5 separate regions of the Homo sapiens genome follow, and regions 2, 3, 4 and 5 are each linked to region 1. Evidence: promoter capture Hi-C in 16 types of primary human blood cells and fetal thymus (Javierre and others, 2016). All regions are on one chromosome and are shown on one strand. The core of a region is centred on a gene start or on the middle of the fragment in contact, and the rest is flanking DNA. Distances in the headings are between cores, read along the strand shown. Region 1 holds the start of PRDX6 (peroxiredoxin 6). Region 2 overlaps RC3H1 (ring finger and CCCH-type domains 1). Region 3 overlaps ZBTB37 (zinc finger and BTB domain containing 37). Region 4 overlaps DARS2 (aspartyl-tRNA synthetase 2, mitochondrial). Region 5 overlaps CENPL (centromere protein L).

Region 1 (3,269 bases), core at 259-2,758:
GCTTAACTTTTCCCTATTCAGTGGCTGGAAAAGGGACTTAAGAGGTTATAAAGGGTTGGATAGGCATATGATGTGTAAGAATCTGTCCCTGGTTCTCTGCACAGCCCTGTCCAATCACTGATTAATTTCATAAGCCTGTCTCCCTGGATACTGTATATAAAAAGGATATAATCTGGGGAAGAACTGTTGTCAAGCCTTGGAGCCCCACAGTGTAGTGGGACCACTAGTACTCCAGAACCATAATATAACTAGACATGCCTGGAATGCTTCTGATGAAAACTAAGCAACTTCCAGTTTGCTGATTCAGGAGCTGTTAAAAAAAAAAAAGGGCAACACCGATTTACTACTCCTATCCATAATGGTAAAACTGCCAAGTCAGATCACAGGTCATCAATTTGGCTATCATCAGCAAGCTCATGTGCTAGAAGCAAGGTAGAAAGCGGAGGGGACAGTGAGGGGCAAGCCACTGGAAAACAAGAGAGTCTCAAAGTTGGGGAGTACACGTGTCCTGGAGCCTGGAACGGCCATCACTAGCAAGAATAGGCCACTCCAGCGGAACAGCGTCAGAAAGTCCTTCCCTCCAAGTGTTGCAAGTTCTGGAATCTCTGAAGGCACACCTACGCAGAGTGTTCTTGGCTCTTCCTAAAGCTGTTATCAAATCATATCTTGGCCATTGGAGGCGGCTCTGGACAAAAAGTCTTTCGGCCACCTACTTGGCAGCTAGTGGTTTTAAATTTCACATTTTGTGCCCAGAAGCCTGCAAATACCACTGCACCCTCAGATGATACGTTGGCCTTCCTGTAACCTATAGCCAGCAGCTGTGTCCTCCGACTTTGGCTTTAGACACCCATCCTCCCCAGGGAGCAAATTCCAGAACGGAGGGTGGGAGGGCGGTGCGACCCTGGGCACTAGTCCGGGGAAGTGATCGTCAATGCCGCCCCGCCCCTGCGCCCTCGGCCTGACCACGCTACCTGCACAGTTTACTAAGACGAGTTAAATGGACAACAAACCCTCCCGCGGGCGGTGAGTTTCCAGAACCCGCAGAACACAATTTTATCCTCCCCACCCCCCACCTTGGCGTGGCCTTGCCCAGCCACGCCGGAGGCGGGGAGGCCAGGAGGGATCGAGTGGCCCGCGCAGGGCAGGCCGAACGGGTGCCAGCTCCCAGCAGCGCAGCCGACGCTGAGCAGAGGCCACACGGCCTGGCGCGCGCCGGAACCAGTGCGGGGGAAGGCGAGGGCGGCGCAGGGGGCTGAGCGGCCGGGAGGACGGCAGGGAGAAGAAACAGGGAAGGCACCTCCGAGTCCGGCGCAACCGAGGCCAGGACAGGGCTACGCGGTGGCCACTTACGAGTCTCCCAGAAAGTCGTGGAAACGGATGCGGCCGACGGTGGTATTGGCCTCAAAGTTGGGAGCCACGTCCCCGAGAAGCAGACCTCCGGGCATGGCGACGGTGATGAGGGGGCGCCGCTGGGACAGCAAGCAACCGGTTGGTTCTGGCGAAGAAGCAGCCTGTCCCAGCGCGCGGAGGAATAAACGAAGGCGCGAGGGGCGGGGACTGGGGCGGCGGGGGCGGGGCCGCGGGAGGCCGGCCGCTGGGGGCCGGGCCGCGGGGGCTGGGCTGGGCGCGGGGCGGGGCGGGGCTGGGCGCGGGGCGGGGCTGGGCCGGGCCGGGCTGGGGCCGGGACGCGGCGCGAGCTGGACTACCGCGGTCGCTGTTGGTGGCGCCGCCGGGCCTGCGACTAGGTGGCATCCTTCAGACACTATAGGCCGTCTCTGCACACGTGATGCGGGGCTCGGTCACGTTGCCCCCTGGAAGCTTGAGGATGCGCCAGGTTTGACTCTGCAGGGCGTACGCGCTTTAGGGATGGAAGGAAGAGGAACGCGGCAGGAAGGCGAGCCCCAAGGTGGAGAATCGCCTGGGCGCGCAGGCTGCGGCGGCTTCGCACAGCCGCCCTGGGCGCTGCACGGGTCCGCGCGCACCCTGCTGCGCACCCACTCGCGGCCAGCTCCCTACAGAGGAGTGGAGTGACTGCTCGACTACCACCCCTCTTTTAGTGTGAGCGTCTGGAGTCCTGACCGCCCCAGCCAGCCCAGCTACGATGAACTGTCTAAGAGGATGTGGCAAGACCCAGAAGTATGGGTGACCTTATGTCAGAGGAAGTGGCTTTCTTATTGCAGCAAAAATTCCCGTACCAATGTCAGTGCTAGGGTAATGTAACTAAACTTTTATTTATTTTTATTCTGCCCTCCCCTTTCTGTTTGTTATGAACCATAAAATATTCAACACAATTATCTTGAAATCTAAATATAAAATTTAAAACATACTCTTTGAGACCTACTGTGTGCAGGTCAACTCTGTCACCCAGGGAGGTGGGCGGCTTAGATTCATTTATTTGCTATGAGCCAAGTACAAGGTAGATAAGATGCCTGTCCTCTTGGAGCTTTCCTTCTTGTGAAGGGAAACCGGTGACAGACAATAAGCACACAAACCAAAATATGTTAGACAGCAATCAGTCGTATTCAGAGAACTAAAATAGGGTTATGTGCCTAGAGGGTGACTGGGGGGCTGCTTTGGTTTGGGTGGTCTGGTCTGGGAAAGCCACCAGGATAATGTAGGTAAACTAGTCAGCTCACGGTAGGTGCTCTGGAAATGGTAGCTATCGTTTGGATGATGACACTGGCTCATGCAGTAACTCTTGCTTTGCCTGCTGTGTGCTGGACACTGTGCCAGGCCATACAGTGGAGAAACACAGTCCCTGCTGTTACAGGGAAGGCATATTTATATGCAATTATAATAAAATGTAGGGTAAATTCTGATGGGGGAAGGTGTAAATGATTGGAGTTCAGAGATGAGAAAAATCCTCTGGATGGGGCTGGCAGGTTTAAGGCAGGGGCATGGCAATGTTGAGAGTAGTGACTCACATACTGTGATTTGCGTTTTCATCACAGTGATGTGTTGGTGCGTGCATGCTAATCATATTTACCGAGTTCTTCAGTGACCCAGGACTTGCAGTAAGATTACTGGTAAAAATTTCTAGCCACTTCACAAAACCGTTTAAAGCTAATGTAATTTAATCTCTAATTTGGCTCCAAGTTTTAACAGCTCCTTGTTTTAACTCCCTTTGTAGGGAAGAAAGAGAATAGTTGGGAAAGAAGAGTAGTTTGGCCTAAGGCACTGTTAACAATATGTTGTGGAAATCAGCTAGAAAACACAATACTCTATAAATATGGAGAATGAATACAGAAACAGATTATTGATGTCTGTCA
Region 2 (3,269 bases), core at 246-2,745, 510 kb before region 1:
CTTTTTGGAAATGAAAAATGGTATAGCTACTTTGGAAGACAGTTTGGCAGTTTCTTTATAAGCTTAACATAGTAGGTATTTACCCAGTTAACTTGAAAATTTATGTCTACACAGAAACCCTCACATGACTATTTATAACAGCTTTATTCATGATTGCCAAAAAATGGAAGCAGTTGAGATATCTTTTAATAGGTGAATGGATAAACAGTGGTATATCCATACAATGGCACATTGTATAAAATGAAATAATGAAAAGACATAGCTGTCAAGTCACAAAAAGACATAGATATATCTCAATGTATACCATTGCTAAGTGAAAGATACCAGTATGAAAAGGCCACATACTGTATGATTCCAATTATGTGATATCTGTAAAAGGTAAAACCATAGCAACAATAAAAGTATCAGTGGTTGCCATGGATTCAGGAGTAGGGAGGGAGGATAGAATTGGTGAAACAGTATTTCTTAGGGCAGTAAAACAGTTCTTTATGATTCTGTAATTGTGGCTATATGACACTCTGAATTTGTCAAAAACTGTAGAACTTTACAAAGATTATGGAAGACAATCTGAAGTATATGAAACAATTTCACTAAAGGGGTGTAGGAGAAAGGTAGATTGTGTAAGATTAAAGATAGAGAAAGATATTATCTATAAGCAGTGTACTCTAGTCTTTTCCCATGGGGGTACGAATTAATTCTGATACTGCTGTATGTATAATACATATTAGAATTGAACAGTTAAGTAAGTGAATGGGAAATGATTGGAGCCAGTTAACAGATAAACAAGGAGGAAGAGGTTAGAGTGATTCATGTGATAATGGATTGGAGTTGGAGGCATCAGTATGAACTCATTTTTAGCTTGATATGGATACAGATGGTTATATACAGAAATAGATATACGAGATATCTCGTGTGTATCTCGGGTTATTACAATGTATATCTCGGGTTATTACAGTGACATATTTCCTTGGTCTGTCATCTAAGATGGCCTAGAAGGAACAACACCCCAATAGTAATGTGCATACATAGCATTCATATCTTGGTTTCTAATACCATTCTCCAATAAAAGGAACCAGAGTTCCTTGGAGAAATGGCTAATTCTAAGACTGGGACAGGAAATACACGAAATGAGTCTGGAGTAGCTTGTAGCACTGGAAAGTATAGAGAAGTATTCAAAACACACACAGACACATACACAGAGTAATGGGGGCTATATCAAAGGCACACAGGAGCCAACTGAAAGAGCTCTCAATGGCCAAAGCTAAAACAGTTTGAACAACAAAATAAATGGAATTGGATCATAACCCAGGTATAAGATAAATATCCTTGAGTCTACACGATACAATTAAATGATTGAATAAATAGATGGAAGAAAGAAACAAATCTCCCGTGCAGAATTCCAAATTAATTACATAGATATTCTGCTCTCAAGGATGTAGAATGTGTGTGGGCTACGCATAGTGACTCCTTCCAAAAAGTACAGTTTGTGGAGATTATGTAACTTTATAGTGGAGAAACCTGGTAAACACTGACTAAACCAGCTGTTCAAATTTAACATCAGCAATAATAAGTTGTGTTGGTGGTGTGTAGCTTTGATATGATGTGATAAAAAATGGCACTTTTCCCCTATGATCTTCCAAAAATCCATAACCCCAATATACTCATGAGAAAAATGACAGATCCTAGATCCCAGTTTAGGGGCATTCTACAACATACCAGACCAGTGCTCCTCAAAACTGTCAAGGTCATTAAAACAAGGAAAGTCTGAGAAAGTGTCCAAGCCAAGAGGAGCTTAAAGAGATATTGAAGGGCTAGCGCAGTGGCTCACACCTGTAATCCCAGCGCTTTGAGAGGCCAAGGCAGGCAGATCACTTGAGGCCAGGAGTTGGAGACCAGCCTGGCCAACACAGTGAAATCCTGTCTCTACTAAAAATACACAGAATCAGCCAGGCGTGGTGGCGCATGCCTGTAATCCCAGCTACTCAGGAGGCTGAGGCATGAGAATCTCTTGAACCTGGGAGGTGGAAGTTGCAGTGAGCCGAGATTGTGCCACTGTACTCCAATCTGGGCGACAGAGTGAGACTTTGTCTCAACTTTGAAAAAAAAAAGAGGGAGAGACATGGAGGGAGAGAGGGAGGCCAAGGTGGGTGGATGGCTTGAGCCCAGGAATTCGAGGCCAGTCTGGGCAATGTAGTGGGACCTCCATCTCTACAATAAAATACAAAATTAGCTGGGTGTGGTGGCGTGAGCCCAGATGCTGCCACGGCACTCCAGCCTGAGTGACAGAGCGAGACTCTTTCTCTGAAGACTAAGTGTAATATGGTATCCTGGATGGGATCCTGAAACTGAGAAAGAACATTAGGTGAAAACTAATATCTGATTAACATGGATTTTAGTTGTTAATTATGAATATGTTGATATTGGCTCATTAATTTTAACAAATGTACCATACCAGTGTAAGATGTTAATAATAGGGGAAATTGTTAGTCGAGTGTGGTGGCTTGCTCCTGTAGTCCCAGCTACTTGGGAGGCTGAGGCAGAAGAATCGCTGGAACCCAGGAGGCGGAGGTTGCAGTGAGCCGAGATGGTGCCACTGCACTCCAGCCTGGGTGACAGAGGGAGACTCCGTCTCAAAAATAATAATAATAATAATAGGGGAAACTGAATACAGGATAATGAGAATTCTGTGTACTATCTTTGCCATTTTTCTGTAAATCTAAAACTGTTCTACAAAATAAAGTTTACTAGGCAAAATGGGCAAAGGATCTGAATAGATATTCTTCCAGAGAAGATATACAAATGGATAATAAGCATATGAAAGGATGGTCAACATCATTAGCTATCAGGGAAATACAAATCAAAACCACAGGGAAGTGGGAGGAAGGTAGATGGGAAGAAGAGATAATTATCAAAGAATACAAAGCTTCAGTTAGACTGGAGGAATGCCTTTAGTGATCTATTGCACAGAACAGTGACTATAAATAGTAATACATTGTATGTTTCAAAATTGCTAAAAGAGTAGATTTTATTTAAAATCTACAAAAAAAAAGTGAGGTGATGGATTTGTTAATTAACCTGATTTAGTCATCTCACATCGTCACATTGTACCCCATAAGTATATGCAATTATTATTAATTTAAAATAAAATTTAGACAAACCACAATGAATTACTACTTTTCACCCAACAGGATAGCTATAATAAAAAAAGATAATGAGTAGAAGAATTATCTTTCTACATAAAATGTAGAAGAATTGGAACCCTTATACAC
Region 3 (3,269 bases), core at 401-2,900, 400 kb before region 1:
CAATCCCAGCACTTTCGGAGGCTGAGGTGGGTGGATCACCTGAGTTCAGGAGTTCAAGACCAGCCTGGCCCACATGGTGAAACCCTGCTATCTACTAAAAATACAAAAATTAGCTAGGTGTGCTGGCGGGCGCCTGTAATCCCAGCTACTCAGGAGGTTGAGGCAGGAGAACCGTTTGAACCCAGGAGGCAGAGATTGCAGCGAGCCGAGATCACACCACTGCACTCCAGCCTGGGTGACAGAGCAAGACTGCCTCAAAAAAAAAAAAAAATATATATATATATGCACACATATATATATAAATAAAATGCTACAAATTAGTAACTTCATAACTGTGTGTGTGTGTATACTACGCATAGTATATATAGTATATATAGTGTGTGCATACTATAGTATACATAGTGTGTGTATACTACATATAGTATATACAGTACACACGTGCACACACACACACACACACACACACACACACACACACACACACATAATAATCAGACTTTCGATTCCAGGTCCTAAATTACCTGCAAATTACCTGTATGTGGTTTTCTGGGATTATTTTTTATTACTATCAGGTCTACAGTGTGGTTATTATAATCAGGAAAGAGTTCCACAATCTTACTTTTTTATATTTCCCAAACTCTGCTGACATCGAAAGTGTATTTTCCTGCACGCCCACAAGCAAGAATTTTAAAAAAAAAGTAATCAAATACAGTATTTAACTTTGCATTTTTTACATAACAAGTCAGGCTGTCTACTAATAACAAAAGTTCTATTTCTTGCTTTGTCATCCTTATGCTATAAATTTGTATTTCTTGCTTTATTGCATTGACTAGGACTACAAATAAAAAGCTGGGTAGAAGTGGTGGTAGCAGACATTCTGTCTCATTCCCAATCACACGAAGGAAGCTTTCAATAATTTACTATTAAGATGTTTTCTGGGCTGGGTGCAGTGGCTGGGTGCAGTGGCTCACACCTGTAATCCCAGCATTTTGGGAGGCCGAGGCAGGCGGATCATGAGGTCAGGAGATCGAAACCACCCTGGCTAACACGGTGAAACCCCGTCTCTACTCAAAAATACAAATAATTAGCCGGGCGTGGTGGCAGGTGCCTGTAGTCCCAGCTACTTGGGAGGCTGAGGCAGGAGAATGGCGTGAACCCGGGAGGTGGAGCTTGCAGTGAGCCGAGATTGCACCACTGCACTCCATGCACTCCAGCCTGGGCGACAGGGTGAGACTCGAGACTCCGTCTCAAAAAAAAAAAAAAGATGTTTTCTATAGATTTTTTAGATAGATACTTTCAATCAGATTAAGAAAGTTCCCTTGTATTTCTTTTTTTTTTTTTTTTTTGAGACGGAGTTTCACTCTTGTGGCCCAGGCTGGAGTGCAATGGTGTGATCTCGGCTCACAGCAACCTCCGCCTCCCGGGTTCAAGCCATTGTCCTGCCTCAGCCTCTGGAGTAGTTGGGATCACGGGCACGTGCCACCATGCCTGGGTAATTTTGTATTTTTAGTAGAGACGGGTTTTCTCCATGTTGGTCAAGCTGGTCTCGAACTCCGGACCTCAGGTGATCCACCTGCCTCGGCCTCCCAAAGTGCTGGGATTACAGGCGCGAGCCACTGCGCCCGGCCAGTTCCCTTGTATTTCTAGTTTGCTAAGAGTTTTAGCCAATTGTTCTTTTCTGTATTTATCAAAATTGCCACATGTAATTTATCACTTTTTCCTTATTAATGAAACAGATTACAATGATTAATTTTAAAATGTTAAACCAGCTATCAGTGTTAATTTGTTAATGTTCTTTTCAAAATATTTGCATCTATGCTTGGTAGAAATACCAGTCTGCAATTTTCCTTTCTGGTGATGTCTCTGTATAATTTTAATATTAAACTTCTGCTACCCTCAGGGAAAAAAAATACAGTATTTCTTTAACAGGGCCATTGTTACCTCTCCTACATCTTTTCTTTTTCATTATTTTCTATTCATACACAGTAGCAATTCCTCCAACCACCAAAGCAGTTCTAAATCCACAACTCCATACCTGGGAGCTGGGTTGCTTAGGCTCATCCATTCTCCCAGGAGACTCACTTCTGGCTCTGTGTCTCTCTGTCAAGGGAACAACACTGCCGGAGGGGCTAAATCTGTTGGAAGAGGAACATAAAGGGGACTAATACAAAAGCAGCATCAAAGAACCTGAAAAATGGTGATGTCGCCCCTCTTTATTCTATGGCTGAGGAAGGGGGAACAAACCAAGCAACAAATAACTGAGGAATAGTTTTGTGGAGTTAATACATAATCTGATTTGAAATAATAGGTTAGCCCTAGTAAATTTAATAAACACAAAATGACATAACAGATAGAACATATGAGCTGGTGAAGCTAAAGCTAAATATAAGCTTTCTTCCTTATATAAATACTGGGAGACCATAAAAGAATAAATTAAAACGGGGCCTATAATTTTGTTTCTTCTACGTAATTACCAGGTTTTTGGCTGTTTCTTCCCCAAGGTCCCATAATAATCTGTATTTTAGACTATTGATATAGATCATGGAGATTAAAAAATCTTTGCATTGAAATTGATATTACTTTTTTTTTTTTTTTGAGACAGAGTCTTGCTCTGTTGCCCAGGCTGGAGTACAGTGGCGTGATCCCAGCTAACTGCAACCTCCACTTCCTGGGTTCAAGCGATTCTCCTGCCTCAGCTGGCCCAGTAGCTGAGACTACAGGTGCGTGCCACCACGCTCAGCTAATTTTTGTATTTTTAGTAGAGATGGGATTCACCATGTTGGCCAGGCTGGTCTCAAAGTCCTGGCCTCAAGTGATCCACCTGCCTCAGCCTCCCAAAGTGCTGGGATCACAGGTGTGAGCCACCACACCTGGCCCTGATATTACTTCTGATAGTTTTTTTTAAAATTTTATTTCCATAAGTTATCATGGAACAGGTGGTATCTGGTTACATAAGTAAGTTCTTTGGTGATTTGTGAGATTTTGGTGCACCCATCACCCGAGAACTTCTGATACAGTTCTAACATAGGAGGACAAGTTCTATGCTCAAGATTATTTTAATAAGGACACAGGAAGACAATACTCAAATCAAGATCACCTGAAGCCAGGCACAGTGGCAGGAGAAACGCCTGAACCCAAGAGGTAGAGGCTGCAGTGAGCCAAGATTGCACCACTGCACTCTAACCTGGGCAACAGAGTGAGACTTCATCTCAAAAATAAAATAAAATAAGGCCGGGCGCAGTGGCTCACACCTGTAATCCCAGCACTCT
Region 4 (3,269 bases), core at 240-2,739, 370 kb before region 1:
CCTAGTCGCTGGGATTACAGATGTGTGTCAACATGCCTGGCTAATTTTTGTATTTTTAGTAGAGACGGGGTTTCACTATGTTGGCCAGGCTGGTCTCAAACTCCTGACTTCAAGCGATCTGCCCGCCTTGGCCTCCCAAAGTGCTGGGATTACAGGCGTGAGTCACTGCACCCGGCCCCAACCAGCTTTTAAAATGCCCCTTTCTTGAATATGTACAGATAACCAACAATCACTGTACATTGAAGAAACTCTGCAGCATTAAAAAAAAAAAAAAGACCAAGATAAACCCAAAAAATTAGCCCCAGAGAAAACATAAGTTATGGACCAAAAGAGAACTTGAATCCTCAAAGGTACTCAAAAATATATTTTATGAATAAAACCAGAATAAGATGCAGTGAAAAAAGCTACTGGGAAATAAAAAAAAATTCAACAGAAGAGTTGAAGAAATCCCCAGGAAAATAGAACAAGACAAAGAAAATGGTGAAAAATGACATGCAAAAGAAAAGAGGTTAAATTGGTTTGACATACAACTAGTAGAAATTCCAAAGAGAGACTAGAAAAAATGATGAGGTCAAAATCATTAGATAATAAAATAATTTTCTACACATAAAAAGACATAAACCTTCGTATTGAAAGGGCTCTTCAAGTGTGTAACACATTAAATGAAAAATGATCAAAAGGCAAACAAACTCTGAAATTTCAGAACATAAAGAATCAGAAGGCAAAAAGCTTCCAATGAGAAAAAACCAGCTCTGCTATAATGGAATAAATTCACACAAGCATCAAAGCATCAGACTTCTCATCAGTAACAACAGATGGGAGAAGAAAGTAAAGCAATGCCTTAAATGTTCTAAAGCTGTGCTGTCTAGCAATGCACTGTTGCTATTTACATTTAAATTAATTAAAATGAAATAAAGTAAAAAGTTCAGCCCTTTAGTTGTACTATCCTATTTCAAGTGTTCACTAGCGACATTGGCTAGCAACAACTACACCGAACAATGCAGACATAAAACGTTTCCATCATTACAGAAAGTTTTATTGGACAGCACTCTTCTAAGATGATATGGCTGTCAATTCAAAATTTTGTACTAAGCCAAATTATTATTGATCAAGTGTGAGGTTTTAAACATAAAGACATTTTGTAAGAACTCAGTAAGTTGATCTCTCACATGCTTTCTTAGGAAGTTACTTGATTACATACTCCAACACAAAAAAGAAAGAGGAAAACCTGGGATCCAGGATGGGTGGCTTCAACTCAGAAAAGAATGAAGAAAAGGGCCGGGCACGGTGGCTCACGCCTGTAATCCCACCACTTTGGGAGGCCGAGGTGGGCGGATCACGAGGTCAGGAGATGGAGACCATCCTGGCTAACACAGCGAAACCCCATCTCTAGTAAAAATACAAAAAAATTAGCCGGGCGTGGTCGCGGGCGCCTGTAGTCCCAGCTAGTCAGGAGGCTGAGGCAGAAGAACGGCGTGAACCTGGGAGGCGGAGCTTGCAGTGAGCCGAGATGGCACCACTGCACTCCAGCCTGGGCGACAGAGTGAGACTCCCGTCTCAAAAAAAAAAAAAAAAAAAAAAAAAGGTTCAGAAAGACAGCTGTGCAGAAGGTACAGAGTAACTAGGTGAGGTCTGTATATGTGAGCCTCATCTCTCATGACAGGAAGTTAACAAGGTTTAAATGAATTAAGTAAAAAGAAAAAAAAAGTATGTAGAGATATTTCCAAAAACAGAGATACTCTGGCAGAATACTAGGATGGATGGGGCAGGCTAGAGCAAATGATTATTGCATTTCATCATTAATGGTTCTTTATTTTTTGAACCATGTGTATGCCATATGTTGCTAAAAACACATAAGATCTTCTGAAAGCAATTAGAAGCCAAATCAAGTTAAAACACTCATAAAAAATAGTAGTAGTAATACCCATTTCTTATATAAAAGTTCAGGAAATTAGGAAAGAAAAAGAAAACAGGAGAAGAGAGAGAAGAATGAAAGAAGAAAATGTAATAATAGTCCCATCAACTGAAAGCTGCCAAAGTTAACCTTCAGGCTTATTTCCTGGTCCTATGGTTCTTAGATGCAGATTTTATATACTAATAAAATAAAAATAAACAAAATTGGAAGATAAAGGGTTGCCAATTTTTAATTTTATAAAGAAAAGACATATTTCATCCCCCCGCCATCCCCACCGCCGACAGAGAAAAAAAGGATAGTTCTTTAAATTTGTTTAACTTTATGAAAAGCTTGTTATATTGCCCTGACTTTTCTGATTTTGTCTCAACCCATTTTGGGAACCACTAACCTGATCTTTTTTTCTTATATAAAAATCTACTTATTGTTCGTTGTGCTTGAGGTATGAGGCTTGGGAAATAGTGGTAGTAGAGGTAGGTAGTCCATTTTCAATATACAAATATAGTGTTTTTACATGGTTATAATCAGTATAAATATAGTCCTATAGCCTCCTTTTCTTACATATCATTATAAGAGCATTTTTCCTCTATTAAGTCTTAGAAAACAAGATTTTAAATAGGAACTTTAATATTAATTCCTTTGATTATAGCATAATTTAATTACTCCTATATGGTTTCATTTTATTCCTGTTATCATACCTAAGATTCTTTCCTTTTTTTTTGAGACAGGGTCTCACTGTGTCACCCAGGCTGGAGTGCGGTGGGGTGAACACAGCTCACTGCAGCCTCGATCTCCTGGGCTCAAGTGATCCTCCCACCTCAGCCTCTCAAGTAGTTGGGATGACAGGTGTGTGCCACCATGCCCAGCTAATTTTTTTTCTGTTTTTTGTAGAGACGAGGTCTCACTATGTTGCCCAGGCTGGTCTCAAACTTCTGGGCTCCAGTGATACTCCCACCTTGGGCTCCCAAAGTGCTGGGATTACAGGTATGCGCTTCCGTGCCTGGCTGGATCCTTTATTTTTTTTAGAGACAGGGTCTCACTCTGTCACCCAGGCAAGAATGCAGTGGCATAATCATAGCTCACTGCAGCCTTGAACTCCTGGGCTTGTGATTCTCCTGCCTCAGTCTCCCAAGCAGCTGGGACTACAGACATGTGCCACTATGCCCAGCTAATATTTATTTATTTAGAGACTGAGTCTTGCTCTGTGGCCCAGGCAGTAGTGCAGTGGCGTGATCTCAGCTCACTGCAACCTCCACCTCCTGTGTTCAAGCGATTCTCCTGCATCAGCCTCTCAAAGTAGCTGGGATTACAAGTGAGCACCAACACACCCGGCACATTTTTGCATTTTTTTTTTTTT
Region 5 (3,269 bases), core at 208-2,707, 330 kb before region 1:
AAAGGAAGAAAGCAGGACCAGTGGGTAGAAACTGTAGGGTCTAACATATAAAAGAACATTTTAAGTTGATAGTGCTGCCTTAGGAAATATTGAAGCCTTCCTCAATGAAAGAATTCAAACATGTTAGATTTTGTGACCTTTCACAGTTCTTTCTAAAGTTGAGGGGTTTTTTTTGTTTGTTTGTTTCAGGGTACTACACCTGGTTATGCCATATTGGTAGCTCTTATTTTGCAGTTTGGTTACACCAAGATTTTGCCATATATCATGTTTCCACTGTATAAGAATATTGGGGGCCGGGCCTGGTAGCTCACGCCTATAATCCTAGTACTTTGGGTGGCCGAGGTGGGCAGATCACCTGAGGTCAGAGGTTGGAGACCAGCCTGACCAATACAGTGAAACCCCATCCCTACTAAAAATACAAAAATTAGCTGGGCATGGTGGTGCATGCCTGTAATCCCAGCTACTTGGGAGGCTGAGGCCGGAGAATCACTTGAACCCAGGAGGTGGAGGTTGCAGTGAGCTGAGATCACGCCACCGCACTCCAGCCTGGGCGACAGAGTGAGACTCCATCTCAAAAAAAAAAAAGGCCAATTATTTTGATAAGCCCTGTTAATCATTAGGGAGACTATTCCCTCTATGTTTTTTTTTGCAAGTATTACATTGGCTCGTCTTATTTTTAATGAACTAATTTTGAGAAGATGGAATTTAGAAGTAAATGTACTTTTGAATTTAAGGAGCCTGTTTACTTTCTTTGTAGATTGTGTCAAAATCTCAATTGCCATCTGAGAATAGAGAAGGTAAAGTGCTGTGGACTGGCTGGTTCTGCTGTGTATTTGGAGACAGTCTTCTGGAGACTGTTTCAGAAGATTTCACCTGTCTGCCCTTATTCCTTGCAAATGGAGCAGAGTCTAACACAGCAATAATTGGAACTTGGTTTCAGAAAACCTTTGACTGTTATTTCAGTCCTTTAGCAATCAATGCATTTAATCTTTCCTGGATGGCTGCCATGTGGACTGCATGCAAAATGGACCATTATGTGGCTACTACTGAATTTCTTTGGTCTGTACCCTGTAGCCCTCAAAGTCTGGACATTTCTTTCGCAATACATCCAGAGGATGCAAAAGCTCTATGGGACAGTGTCCACAAAACACCTGGGGAGGTTACCCAGGAAGAAGTTGACCTATTCATGGATTGCCTTTATTCACATTTCCATAGACATTTCAAAATTCATTTATCAGCCACAAGATTAGTTCGTGTTTCAACATCTGTAGCTTCAGCACATACTGATGGAAAAATAAAGGTTAGTTTGAACAATCTAGTTAAGTAATTTTTCCTTGTTTTATGGTTTTAAAAATGTATGATGATTGTATTGTCCACTCAATTGAAGAAACACACTTGAATGTATTCAAGACAATAGAGAGCTTTTATTTTATGGTTTATGGTTTATTGCAGTCTTTAGCCTTCTAGATATAGCCTTATAATGGAAGGACACTATATGCTGTGTGCTTCAGCTTTTGGTAATAATGTGAATTATTATTTTGTAGTAACTTTGAAACTTTCAGAATTGTTCCTTGTGAAATTTTGAAATAATTATCAGAGTAATAGAGAATTTTGTGTTAGACAAAATTATAGCCAGAAACACAGAACTAAGATGTCATCTTTATGTTCCAGGCTTTTCTGTCCTCATTGGGAAAGAAATAATAGAGACATTGTTTTATTCTCTACAGAGTGATTTCTGATAAGAAGTATCAGAAATAGGCCAGGCATGGTGGCTCACGCCTGTAATCCCAGCACTTTGGGAGGCCGAGGCGGGCGGATCATGAGGTCAGGAGATTGAGACCATGCTGGCTAACACGGTGAAACCCCGTCTCCACTAAAAATACAAAAAATTAGCCAGGCGTGGTGGTGGGCATCTGTAGTCCCAGCTACTGGGGGAGGCTGAGGCAGGAGAATGGTGTGAACCCGAGAGGCGGAGCTTGTAGTGAGCCGAGATCGCGCCACTGCACTCCAGCCTGGGTGACAGAGCGAGACTCCGTCTCAAAAGAAAAAAAAAAAGTATCAGAAATAAACTGAGAATTGGCTCCTAAAATATATTAAAATACACAGCCACAATGTACATTCAGTAAATGTTTCCTGTGATCTTGTTACTGTGCTAAGAGTTTAACAGACTTAAATTCTAATCTTTAGAGCAACCCTGTAGTTAGGTGTTTTTTCTGTGTGTGCTTTTTGTTTTTTTTTTTGAGACAGAATCTCACCCCATCACCCAGGCTGGAGTGCAGTGGTGCTATCTCAGCTAACTACAACCTCTGCCTCCTAGGCTCAAGCGATTCTCGTGCCTCAGCCTCCTGAGTAGCTGGGACTACAAGCATGAGCCACTACACCTGGCTAATTTTTGTAATTTTACTTTTTTTACTATTTTTATCTTTATTTATTTATTTATTTTGAGACGGAGTCTTACTCTGTCACCCAGGCTGGGGTGCAGTGGTGCAATCTCAACTCACTGCAACTTCCGCCTCCTGGGTTTAAGTGATTCTCCTGCCTCAGTCTCCCGAGTAGCTGGGACTACAGGTGCCTGCCACCATGCCCAGCTATTTTTGTATTTTTAGTAGAGATGAGGTTTCACCATGTTGGCCAGGCTGGTCTTGAACTCCTGACCTCAAATGATCCACTTGCCTTGGCCTCCTAAAGTGTTGGGATTACAGGCATGAGCCACCATGCCTGGCTAGTTAGATTTTTTTTTTTTTCCTTCGAGATGGAGTCTTGTTTTGTTGCCTAGACTGGTGTGCAGTGGTGTGATCTTGGCTTACTGCAGCCTCCGCCTCCTGGGTTCAAGCAATTCTCCTGCCTCAGCCTCCCGAGTAGCTGGGATTACAGGCTCCACCACCATACTTGGCTAATTTTTGTATTTTTAGTAGAGATGGGGTTTCACCATGTTGGCCAGGCTGGTCTCAAACTCCTGACCTAGTGATCCACCCACCTCGGCCTCCCAAAGTGCTGGGATTATAGGCATGAGCCACCGTGCCTGGACAGTTAGGTGTTTTTATCCACATTTTATTTTAAAACAAGGAAACTGAGGCCAAGATAGGTTTAAATGACAAGCAAGATAGATTATCAAGAGGAAGAATCAAGATTTGAACTCTTACCTCGTAGATCCAATAAGTCAATACTCTATAAGCACTATATTCATGTTTTTCAAACTGGAGGTCACAGTGCAACAGTAGGTTGGGAAATAATTTTGATGAGACCAGCATTAAAAAACAAAAAGGGAA

Evidence for each region. The method cuts DNA at HindIII sites, captures the fragments that hold promoters and counts their contacts. A CHiCAGO score of 5 or more calls a contact.
Region 2: a fragment that was not itself captured here is called in contact with the fragment with the promoter of PRDX6 in region 1 in 2 of 17 cell types (neutrophils and monocytes); the score reaches 5.7 in neutrophils.
Region 3: a contact is called between a fragment that was not itself captured here and the fragment with the promoter of PRDX6 in region 1, in 2 of 17 cell types (neutrophils and fetal thymus). The highest score is 8.1, in neutrophils.
Region 4: a fragment that was not itself captured here is called in contact with the fragment with the promoter of PRDX6 in region 1 in 7 of 17 cell types (megakaryocytes, erythroblasts, fetal thymus and 4 more); the score reaches 9.6 in megakaryocytes.
Region 5: a contact is called between a fragment that was not itself captured here and the fragment with the promoter of PRDX6 in region 1, in 1 of 17 cell types (megakaryocytes). The highest score is 5.6, in megakaryocytes.

The regions. Positions count from the first base shown.
Region 1 is chr1:173,475,574-173,478,842 of GRCh38, reverse strand. It overlaps PRDX6 (peroxiredoxin 6), which reads right to left and starts at 1,508. Exons shown (of 5, transcript NM_004905.3): 1 at 1,351-1,508. The coding sequence starts at 1,445. It overlaps LOC100506023 (a long non-coding RNA gene), which reads left to right and starts at 1,688. Exons shown (of 3, transcript NR_037845.1): 1 at 1,688-2,211. RefSeq lists enhancers at 1,310-1,469, 1,967-2,503 and a silencer at 1,540-1,709. The HindIII fragment of the contact is 1,817 bases long and covers 4-1,820 here.
Region 2 is chr1:173,985,403-173,988,671 of GRCh38, reverse strand. All of the region lies in intron 2 of RC3H1 (ring finger and CCCH-type domains 1), which reads left to right. Among named protein-coding and RNA genes, the nearest start is that of RC3H1, 35 kb to the left of the region's middle. The HindIII fragment of the contact is 2,861 bases long and covers 65-2,925 here.
Region 3 is chr1:173,872,333-173,875,601 of GRCh38, reverse strand. It overlaps ZBTB37 (zinc finger and BTB domain containing 37), which reads right to left. Exons shown (of 5, transcript NM_001122770.3): 4 at 2,036-2,135. Among named protein-coding and RNA genes, the nearest start is that of ZBTB37, 5.6 kb to the right of the region's middle. The HindIII fragment of the contact is 1,484 bases long and covers 909-2,392 here.
Region 4 is chr1:173,846,160-173,849,428 of GRCh38, reverse strand. The region is part of intron 12 of DARS2 (aspartyl-tRNA synthetase 2, mitochondrial); the gene reads right to left. Among named protein-coding and RNA genes, the nearest start is that of GAS5-AS1, 15 kb to the left of the region's middle. The HindIII fragment of the contact is 1,515 bases long and covers 732-2,246 here.
Region 5 is chr1:173,800,994-173,804,262 of GRCh38, reverse strand. CENPL (centromere protein L) reads left to right here. Exons shown (of 6, transcript NM_001387287.1): 5 at 758-1,300. Among named protein-coding and RNA genes, the nearest start is that of DARS2, 22 kb to the left of the region's middle. The HindIII fragment of the contact is 4,338 bases long and covers 1-3,269 here.